Regions from separate parts of the Homo sapiens genome. Here all the other regions are linked to region 2. Evidence: promoter capture Hi-C in 16 types of primary human blood cells and fetal thymus (Javierre and others, 2016). All regions are on one chromosome and are shown on one strand. Each heading gives the region's core, a stretch centred on a gene start or on the middle of the fragment in contact. The rest is flanking DNA. Distances are from core to core; before and after follow the strand shown.

Region 1 (3,853 bases), core at 1,052-3,551, 2.8 Mb after region 2:
TTTATTTTTGAGCATTTAAGTTACCACCTTTTAGCTCTCATAAGCAATGCTGGTATCCCTTTTCATGTCTCTATCTAATTATTATCAAATTAATTGCCAAAAATAATCTGCAGGAGAATATTGCCAGATGGCCCTGGATTAATTATAAATCCCACCAGTGTGGTAGAGGGCCTGTTTCCTCATGCCTCCACCAGTGGTCGGTATGAACAGATTTTTTAACGTTTTCACTAGCCTCACAGATATCTTGCTGGTGTCTTAATTGGCATGTTTTGATTACTTGTGAGATTGAATATATTTTTGTATGAAATATTAAATATTTTCGTATTTATTTCTTGGTCATTAGTATTTTATTTATGTATTTATTTATTTATTTATTTTGAGGCAGCGTCTGGCTCTGTTACCCAGACTGGAGTGCAGTGACACAATCTCAGCTTACTGCAACCTCTGTCTCACTGGTTCAAGTGATCCTCCCACCTGAGTAGCTGGGACTGTAGGTGTGCACCACACAGCCTGGATAATATTTGCATTTTTAGTAGAGATGAGGTTTCGCCATGTTACCCAGGCTGGTCTCAAACTCCTGGGCTCGAGCAATCTGCCTGCCTCGACTTCCCAAAGTGCTGAGATTACAGGCATGAACCACCACGTCTGGCCAGTATTTCTTACTTTATAAATTATTTATTTGCATCCTTGCCCACTTTTATTAAGTTGGGCTGTTCCTTTTTGATTTGCAAGTCCTTTCTGTGTTACAGATTTTAACATTTTGTCATATGCTTCAATTTCTTTTAATTTATTTTGATTCTTAAATTTTTCTACTTATATATATTTTTAACATGCAGAAGTTTAACATTTTTACGTATTCAAAACTATCCTTCAAGTAGGATTTTGCTTTTGGTTTCATGTTTAGAAAGTCTCTATTCCAGGATTCTAAAAATGCTCACCTATATTTTATCGTTATGGCTTTATTTTTTACATTTACATTTATAGCCCATTTGGAAATCATTTGAGTGAAAAGTATGAGGTAGGGACTAAGATTTAATTTTTTTCTTTTACCTGACATCTAAGCCACTTACTGAATTAAACATTTTCTGTTTCACTGATTTGAAATACCCCATTTACCATGTACAGAATCCCTATAGATTCTTAAGGTTATTTTCAGACCCTACTCTGTTCCACTGATTTGTCTTTTCCTGTGCTGCTATCTCACTATCTTAATTATTACAGCTTTAATAATCCATTTTAATAACTAGTATTGCAAGTGCTCACTTATTATTTGTTCTTCCGCAAAATTTTCTTGGCAAGTTGGGCATGTTTATTCTTCCAAATGAACTTCAGAAATAACTTTGTCAAGTTCTAGAAAAAGAAATTCTTACGGTGTGTGTTAATTCCGTAGATGAATTTGTACAGAATTGCCATATTCACACCATTGAGCCTTACCATCCAAAGGCATGGCAAGCATTTTGTTTGTTCATTTTCTTTTATATTGAGGCTTTATGCATTTCTTCACCAAGGTCCTGAACTTTTATTGTTAGGCTTATTCTGACTGGTTATGGCTGGCATATAAGAAAGCCAGTGCTCTTTTGTACAGTTACATCTGTGAATGCACCTTTAATTTAGATTAGATTTTTCAGTTATCTTGAATTTTTTCAAAGAGAAAGTTGTGTCAACTGCAAATAATTCTTATTTTATAACCCCCCCTTCTTCTCACCATTTACTTCTTATTTTATCTAATTGCACTCATTAGTATTTCCTGGAAAATGTTAAATTATAGCAATGGGAGCGGGTGTCCATTTATGCTTTGGGCTAGACTTTAGTAGTTATACTACCTTTATTTTACTGTTGACCTTGCAGAGGAAAGGTTTCAGAGCTGATCTTTTATACTGCTGAGGAATTATTTTATTTTCCTGAAAGCTTTTATTAGGGATGGTTGTTCAATTTTATCATATACTATTTTGTACACGATAAGAGTGTGTATATGATATTAAATGATACTAAATGTGTGTGTGTGTGTGTGTGTATGAGCTGTTAAATGGGGGAATAATATCAGTATGATTTAATAATATCAAATTGTCCTTTTTAAAATTACATTTCTTTTGTAGAGTTGGGGTGTTACTGTGTTGCCCAGATTGGTTTTGATCTCCTGGGCTCAAGCAGTCCTCCCATCTCAGCCTCCCAAAGTGCTGGGATTACAGGCGTGAGCTACCACAGCCAGCCCAAATTCTTCTTTTATCTATGGAATCCTAGTGCTGTTTTTGCAATCAGAAACCACTCTTTTTTTTTTTTTTTTTTTTGAGACAGGGTCTCAGTCTCACTCTCACCCAGGCTGCAGTGCAGTGGCACAATCATAGCTCACTGCAGCCTCAACCTTTGGGCTCAAGCAATCTTCCCGCCTCAGCCTCCCAAGTATCTGGGACCACAGGCAAGCACCACTACGCCTGGCTAATTTGTTGTATTTTTGGTAGAGATGGGGTTTCACCACATTGCCCAGGCTGGTCTTGAACTTCTGTGTTCAAGTGATCCATCTTGAGCGGCTGAGCATTATTTTTCTTCTAGAAGAAGTCTTGATTTTCTACATCTGCAAGAAACTTTAATTCTTAATTGGCACTGTTTGAGCTCTGTTCTGAAAAGGAGGCCTAAATCCCTTAGATTTGTTTTTTACCAGATTGGTTTACTTTTGCTAGATGCAATGGAAGCTTTTGATTTTGTATTTTTGACTTTCCTGTCTCCATTAAAGTTAGACCCATCCCTGGACTTGGGTGGGGCAGGGAAGATGAGAAGAACCAGGTAGGAAAGAGACGACATTCAGATGGCAGGCCTCCCTGACCCCAGGCAGGACTTCAGTGGCAGCCTGGACAGCTCAGGGAGTCTGGGGAGGGTTGCCTATGTCCAGTGAGCAAGCTTGGCACTTGGCAAGTACCCGGTCTCTGTCTTCTCTATGGAGAACTCACCTCCATTCGTTTCAGGACTGCCCACAAAAAAATGGGCTTCATTTGGCATCATCAACTAATCAGCAGTCGAGGAGGCTCCCTCTCAAAAGCAGCAAGTGTCCTTTTGTGCTAAGTAGGCAAGCACATAGCCAGGGGGCCCCAGTCCACTGTTCTTGCACCCTCCGTAGGCCCAGGAGAATTCTGGAGGCCTGATGACTGTCTCTGCAAAGGAAGTCTTTTACACATTGTGCGCAGTGTTCAGTAGCTTTTTTGATCACATTTATTTTATACTCTGAGCTGAGTCAGTCAGCAAGAGGTGCTTAGCTTGTTACTGAAAGGGGCGGGGAGTGGTATATAAATAATGAGAACTCAGAGAAACTTGTGCTGTTAACAGCTCTGCTCCAGTAAAGTGGAGTTTATTGTGTCACTGCCTCTGGGTGTGTTTTCCTGTGAAGGCCAGAAATAATGCAGTGGTACAAGTGTGTTGGGTATTTTTTTCCCTATCCCCAGGAGGATGGTAACTCTCTCATTAATACTAAAGACAGGTTTAAAGATTCTCTAATTGATAGTTGCATTGCTGTGTGATTTGTTCAGCGTGAAGGCTGACCATTCTCCTTTAGACCTTAGCACCGAGCCTCAAAGAGAGGGCCTGACTTGGTTTCCCCCAGGCTGCCAGACGAAGGTGGAGTGACCGTCTCTCTAGGCCAGTCCTCTCCTCCTCTGTAGATCATCTCTGGTCCCATTCAGCCTTAATTCTGTTCTCGTCTACATGTGACTTCCCCATTCCATGCTTTCTTAAGTGCAAAACATCTATCATTTTCTAAATAATACCTTATTATATGACTGTCATTAACTTATATGCTGGGATGTTAGATTCAACATCATGGCATGTTAGATCCAAACTCTCCACTGTATTAAAAAGGTGGGAG
Region 2 (3,851 bases), core at 712-3,211:
TACAAATAATAATATTCATTATGTATGTACTTCCAATCCCTAGCAAAATGCCTGGAATTTAGGATGTTAATAAGTATTATTGAATGAATATCATGTATCATTGCTAATATTTTAAAAAACATATCTACACTAATTTAATGAACATTTTCTACCCACAACTATAGGATATAAAATACAAATTGAAGTATACTGGTTCTTGATTATCTGGCGATCTGACCTCAAGAAAAACATTTAGCTTCTCCAGAGGGTCTTCGTTTATAAAATAAGAATGTTGAAGTAATTATCATCTAAGATCCATTTACAGCTCTGAAGTGCCAATCTTAAATATTACTTCAAGTAGATGAAGATGAAGAAAATTAGCATAATGAAGGAAGGCATTATATAAATTGGATTGTTCTGAGCTTCCTGATGAAATTCTGTCCAATTTTAAAGGAAAAGGAAATAGTTGACTTCAAAAAACTGTTTATAGTTTATCATTGAAAAATAATAGGTCTGCTGGTTTACCTCTGATTTGAAATGTCGTAAATTAATAGGTCTAGAGAGAGCTAACGTCATATTCAGAAATCAACCTTTGCAGACCTTCTGGTTGAAAAAGTATTTAATAAGCATGAAACTCTGGCTGGTTCCTTAATAATATTATTATTAACTATTTTGTCAACATCTGTTAAATGTTGGCTATGTGCTGGATGTGGTTGAGCCTGGAGCTAGGGTGTTACTGTCACTTTTGGGGAAGAGGCCATTTCAGAATTATGAAACCAACATTTTACCACATTTGAGTCATTTGCAATGTGCATTCTCTTACAGCTACCAAAATACTCCTGTGGAAAGAGGGCAACATTGCTTTCTCAAAGTTTTTACAATCTTTTAGATATAACCAAGGCAAGAAAAATTCCATCCTTGTTAATTAGCTAGCAGTGAACATAAGAAATCAGAACATTTAATAAATATTTAAAATGAACGAACAGAAAAATTCTTGAAGGAACATGTTTAAGAAAAAAATAGCCAGATACATGATTTGTAATCTCACTTTTACAAATATATCCAACACTAGTAAATACTCTTCTTTAGTTTTGCTTTGTGCTTTTCTAAGGAGTTTTATGGCCATTAGCTCATGCAACAATCAAGTGGAATAGCTGTTGGAGGGCCTCACTGACATTCCCCTAGGATAATGTATCTGACACTACCCAGAAAGTATTTCCCTTCTTTTTAGGTTTTCCAGCCAGCACTTGAAAAGACTGTATATGACACAGAGCCTACAAGAAAAGGAATGTGGCCACACCCTCTTTAAATGAAAAAAGTAATAAGCGGACCTTCTTATTTTAAATAGCATAAGCAAATATAACATATATTTTTAAATGTTTATTACAAAGAGCATGATTAGCACTTTGAGGTCTGAATCTATCTTGTTTTCCTTACAAAAGAAGAAAATAAATTATGAAAGTCCTACTATTTTGAAACAGTTCCCTGCAGCCCACTCCTATCACTTTTGTTCTTGCCCCCAAAAAGCAGCCCCCATCACGATTTCTCTGTAAAACACACAGCTCTTGGGAAGAAATATTTCAAGGGGAAGGAAAGGAAAAACACATTCTTTTAAGGCTACCAGAGGGAAAGCACATTCTTCCCTTCTTTCTCATGGTAACTTACCAAGAGTACAATGAGCCAGTATTAAGCAAACTTATCTTATTTTTACTTGTATTTGTTAACTAAGTAGAACAAAAATATTGTAATTTGTGATTCCTAAAATATAAATATCCAATGTAATTCTACAGAAAGATTTATGAATGACTTATCATGTTAAATGCAACTAACCATAAATCCTGTAGAAGCAGTAACATTTAACATAGTGATGAGAAAAGTTTTCAAAACAACCAAAACTAACTAAAAGGAAAACCAAGACTTACCTTTATCTCTACCTTCTTGCAAAGAACTAAAGAGAAATTCTTCTCTGAAGATTTCACACTGGCAGTGGAGACTTGGGCTTCTGATTTTATAGGATTTTAAAGGAAGCCACACCTAGCAACCAGAAGTTAGTAATTGGCTGCCTTCTGTTTGAAGTACATGGCTCAGCTATGTCCAAAAACAAAGTGAAACAAGTCTTGCAAAACTACTCACTAAACCAATTCAACTGGCATTACAAAGGAAAAGAAATGGAAGGGCTGATTTTTCCTCCCTCTTTATTTTGCACTTTTATTTCCAGATGGGATATTTATTTTGCACTTTTATTTTCAGAGTATACATCTGCCCCAATCCTAATACCAGTGATTGGCACACTTTTGTAGTTAAATAGGTTGTAGACTAAAAAGTATGTTACCTTCAAAACTAAACAAACCAACAAACAAAATATTACATTTGAATTCCACCTCCATCACTTATTATTCTGTGACTTTAGGGACATACTTAATTTTTCTGAACCTGTTTTTACTTTTGTTTTGTTGTCTTTTTCCCCCGCTTTTTGTGGAGAATGGGGTCTCGTTATATTGCCCAGGCAGGTCTCAAACTCCTGGGCTCAGGCTATCCTCCTGCCTCTGTCTCCCTAAGAGTTGGAATCACAGGCGTGAGCCACCATGCCTAGCTGTTTTTACTTTTGTATATAGGAGCATTATCTAAGTTGTCTACCCACTAGAATTCTTGTGACAATGGAGAAATAACATATATTTGTAAATTTTAACATTACACAGTGCCGAATAATTTTCTATTTATATTTTTCTTGCCTTAAAAAATAAACGACTTTTGTTCCTAGATATAGCTTGTTGTTATAAATAAGAAATATAGAAGTAATAAAGTTCCAGATTGGCTCAAAATTTTGAACAAAGGTAATGCCAAAAATTTGATCATTATGACATTCAATAAAAGCATTGACATCAGAAGGCCTATCTACATTAATTCTTTTAAATAGAGTCAGTTACATAGAACTATATATATAAACTGTAATATAGATCAGTTATATATACATTTTGATACACATCTTTGACATTGTAGACTAGTTGAACACCAAAACAAGGAACTAGACCTATAAAATGAAAGGATTAATGGAGCAGCAACTATTACAGAACACATTCCATAAGAAATTTCCCACCCAATGGAGGAAAATTGGTTCTGGTAACTTCCATAGTGGTTCATTTTCATTCTTCTTTAAACCCTACAAAGTATTATATGATGTTTCCATTAAAGTGCACAGGTGTAAAATCTCACAGCATTATGGCTCAATTTATGCTGCATTTAGTGGTTTGTTCTTTTTCCTCTTTTCCTCATAGATATTTCACATAAAAAACATGAAGTTTAGGAAGTTAATGAAAATACTTTCTAAAGATTGGCAGTATTTTATAATACATTCTAAGTGCTCGATGCCAATATCAATGAAGTCAACATATCCTGAAGTAGGATGATCATCTAATCTAAATATTTAAGAAAATGTCAATATATGTTTTTACTATCATATGTGTAAGTTGAAAATTAATTAGTTACCTGCTAACAAGTTAAGTTAATTGATATTATTGCAAATTGATCTTGACAGATGTAGACTAACTTTCTAATACCATATTTATGTCATCAGGTGAGAAGGAATAAGATGATTATACAAAATCTGGTTTTCTTTTTTTCTTTAATTTGCGTTTGTATTCCTAACTCTGGTAATGGAACTATTGGAACATTCCTGCACAGTGATGCTCTTGTGAAATGAAGAAAAAATTCCACTTACTTTTTATAAAATATAACAACCTAGAAAACATGTATAGTCTCATTTTGCTTTGTTGCTGCTATTACCAGTGCCATAAACTGAATGGAATTATTTTATATGTTTGGATTTGTAATACATAGGCAAACCTAAAATAGCAACAATAAATATGATAATT
Region 3 (3,698 bases), core at 762-3,261, 2.6 Mb after region 2:
CCTTGCCTTGGAGCTTGATTTGATCCTCTGAGGTCCTTCCAAAGCCTCCACATGCTGCTTTCCCTGCTCCCACCTCTCGGTGCTCTTTCCTCTTCTCCAGCTACTCCCTGGCATTACTCCAGACCAGGGACCTTCTTGTGCTCACAGGATGTAGCTCTAAGCAGTGCCTGGTGCTTAGAGCATCCTTTCCCCAGAGAGCCACTTAGCCAACTCCCTCATCTGAGGTTGGAGTCTTTGTTCAAATCTTGCCTTCTTAGTGTGGCTTACCACCACCACCCGTGGGCTTCCCGCATCACACCTGATCCTTCCTACCCTGTATTCTGTACTTTCTCCCACAGCATTTATCACCTACTGACAGCCTGCTTAGCTTATTTATCTATTATGCTATTGTTTCTTTTCTGTCCATCCACTATCACCACCACCATCCCTTTCCCAGTATAGATAGTCTAGGGGCAGGGATCTTTGATGTTTCGCTCACTGATGCATCCCGAGCACTTAGAATAGTGCCTGGTACACAATAGGGGCTCCATAAATACCTGTTGAATGAATGATGAGGGAAGCTGGAAATGTGTCATCATCACTGTTATTAACACTATTTCTATTATCATCATTAGGTCAGGCTTAGAAATGAGGACACTGAGGCTCAGACACATCAAAGGACTTACCCATAGGACATAGATGGCAAAATGCCAGATCTAAGTCTCAATCTGAACCTACCCAAGGTTAGTGCCTTGTGTCTAGTGACTTCACAAAATGATTTAGTAATGTGGGATAATGTGATTATTTAAAATATAATTTAAAAAATGATGAACAGCAAAGTGCCTTGCCTATTCTTTCCCTCTTGGCCCGCCCCCGCCCCCACCGCAATTCACTTGATTGGTATCTCAGTTTATTATTTTTTAACAGATAAATCTAGGCTGGGCACAGTGGCTCATGCCTGTAATCCCAGCACTTTGGGAGGCCAAGGTGGGTGGATCACATGAGGTCAGCGGTTCGAGACCAGCCTGACCAACATGGCAAAACCTTGTCTCTACTAAAAATACAAAATCAGTTGGGCATGGTAGCTTGTGCCTGTAATCCCAGCTACTTGGGAGGCTGAGGCAGGAGAATCACTTGAACCCAGGAGTTGGAGGTTGCAGTGAGCTGAGATCACACCATTGCACTCCAGCCTGAGCAACAAGAGCAAAACTCTGTCTCAAAAAAAAAATAAAAATAAAAACAGATAAATCTGCCAAGATGAAAATGTTTATTTGTTGTATTTTAACTGACGTGTCAATGTTGCTCTGGGAAAGAATAACGTTGTTAGCCCACTATACAAGGGTGTGCTGTCACCCAACTATTTTATCATATTCCTAGCAGTTCATATGCAGCATACATTTGGACACATAGTCCCAACACAAGAGCCAACAGCTGCTTAGATTCTAAGCGGAATGTGGACTGCCTATTGTCTGGATTCTTGGTTGTTTGAGGAGCATCACTTGAAGCGTGAAAAGCTCAAGTTTTAACAGTAAACAGAGCTTGGGATCCAGAGGGCACAGAGAGGAATTAGTGCCTGCAGATCAGAGAGATTCGAGCCTGAACCGTGAGCTGTAAGTACAGATGTGTTTCTTGCATTGTCTCTTACCAGGGGATTTGTAAATAATGTCAGCAGGAACTTATTTGCTTATATACGCATTCCTGAATATTAGGAGCCACATTGATCATTTCTGTAGATATCATATAACCCCTCAGGCACAATGCAATGGGAGTCGACAAGAGCCATAGATTATTTCTTTGGAGGTGGTGTAGCCTCATGTCCCCTGATGTGCATTTACACATAGACATGCAGTCTGGCTCACTGGACTGATCCTTCCAGGCACAGAGAGCCCTGATATGAGGTTGCTGGTTCTTTTCCTAAGAAGGCCCCTCTTGAAGAGGGCCCTGGCTCTTCCCTCTTTGAATACTCTAATACCCTAAATATGCATGGGCTTCTGAAAAGTAATACAATTCCATTTTAAACAGAAACAACAAGCATATTCCTTAGTGTGTGGCCTGTAGGCTGAGGTAGTGTGGACTCACAGGGAAAACCTTCCACAGTAAAGGCAATGAGAATGGACTCCAGCTCCCTTCACCTACAGGGGAAGGGGTGCCTCCTCCTGCCCTCATTGCTCAGAAAGGTGTATTGTTGCGTGTCAGGGAGTTGTGATGAATTATAGGTAGGTGGACAGCAACACAAAAATCTGAAAGAGTAACTTATTTTATGTTTTCTCTGAAATTTTTCTGTTGTTTTGGTTTGAAGAAGGAAAGAACTTATCTAATCCTATTTCGTATATGCAAATATCAAAAGGAAGGTGTAATGATGATGATGAGGCAAGCCCTGAGTAAAACTGAGTTAAACACAATTATTTCCATTCTTCTAACCCTTCCCAGAGCTTCCCTCTCCCTTCTCACAGCCCCTCCCTTCTCTGATGAAACTACTAGGCAAGGAAACTGATTCCTTCTGAAGTCTTAGCGACTATGTTCTCAACCAGAGAAAAATGTTGATTGTAAGAAAACAAAACTACACAGAGTAGGTTCAATAAAGACTGACTGTAAGTGCCTAAGAGAAAACCACAGAGGCATTCAAAGACAGGAAGCAGAGCACGACATGCGTGAGCTGACTGGGAACAAAACCAGAAGTGGTTTTGTAAAGTCAGAATCAGAAGACATGACCACACTCATCTGCTTTTCTCTATACTTCTCTCCTGCCTCAATCAATAATCAATCAATCATTTCTCTCTTTCTCTCTTGCTCTCTCTCCCATTTCCTTTCTCCCTTCCTCCACCATCCCTCTCTCATATGGCTTGCTTTACATGACCCAGTGAGGTCAGGCTCTATATGTTCTTTAAGTACATGCCATCATCTAACTTAAGTCTCTGCACTTCTGTTTTATTTCTAAACACAAAGAGTCTGATTAGTCACTGGCCATTCAATGAACTCACTCCTTCTTGGTCAATGGTGGAATCTGCTCCAATCATCTGTAGCCTGAATTGGGTGAAAGGAGAAGTGAAGAAATGAGGAAAGGACTTTGTCAGCCTGAAGGACGTAGGGCTACCTCTTCCAGCTGTGAGCAGGGCAAGGGAAATTTAGCTTGTTTATCAGGTATCTATCAACACAAAAATGATACAGGAAAAACCACCCTAGAATTCAGAACTTAACGCCATAAGCACGTATTGAGCTCAGAAGACTGAGAGTTGGCTGCATGGTTCTTCTGGTCTGGGCTGGGCTCAATCACCTGCCAGGAGGTCAGCGGGCTATCACCTCCTCCAGAACAGCCTCAGCTCAGAAAACAAGCACCTAGAAGCAAAGGTTCCCTGTGTTTCATTCTCCAACAGGCTAGCTCATGCATGTCTCTTATGGTAATGGCGGAAGCCAAAAAGTGGAAACAGAAACATTAAGGGCTTTTCCAAGGTTCTGTGTGGGTCACATTTGCTAACATTCCATTCACCAAAGCAAACCACATGGCCAAACTCAGAATCAAGAGGTGAAGAAAGAGATCCCACCTGTTTAGTGATAGAAACTCTAACATCACATGACAAAGCAGTGTGGATCCAGGGAGGGGAGAGAAATTGGGGCTGTTAATGCAATCGATCTCCTAATCATGACAGCAAACCCACTGGCGTGTACAATAGGCTAGTTTAGATATATATTCTTCCAAGGCAAGATTTGCATAAAATATT

The links. The method cuts DNA at HindIII sites, captures the fragments that hold promoters and counts their contacts. A CHiCAGO score of 5 or more calls a contact.
Region 1: a contact is called between a fragment that was not itself captured here and the fragment with the promoter of ANXA1 in region 2, in 1 of 17 cell types (total CD4 T cells). The highest score is 5.1, in total CD4 T cells.
Region 3: a fragment that was not itself captured here is called in contact with the fragment with the promoter of ANXA1 in region 2 in 3 of 17 cell types (non-activated CD4 T cells, activated CD4 T cells and naive CD8 T cells); the score reaches 6.7 in non-activated CD4 T cells.

Annotation. Positions count from the first base shown.
Region 1 is chr9:70,392,460-70,396,312 of GRCh38, reverse strand. All of the region lies in intron 1 of KLF9 (KLF transcription factor 9), which reads left to right. LOC124900273 (a long non-coding RNA gene) reads left to right here. Exons shown (of 2, transcript XR_007061576.1): 2 at 1-3,256. Among named protein-coding and RNA genes, the nearest start is that of KLF9-DT, 20 kb to the left of the region's middle. The HindIII fragment of the contact is 782 bases long and covers 1,911-2,692 here.
Region 2 is chr9:73,149,975-73,153,825 of GRCh38, reverse strand. ANXA1 (annexin A1) reads right to left here and starts at 1,961. Exons shown (of 13, transcript NM_000700.3): 1 at 1,902-1,961. The HindIII fragment of the contact is 9,458 bases long and covers 1-3,851 here.
Region 3 is chr9:70,562,810-70,566,507 of GRCh38, reverse strand. The region is part of intron 22 of TRPM3 (transient receptor potential cation channel subfamily M member 3); the gene reads left to right. Among named protein-coding and RNA genes, the nearest start is that of KLF9, 150 kb to the right of the region's middle. The HindIII fragment of the contact is 5,245 bases long and covers 1-3,698 here.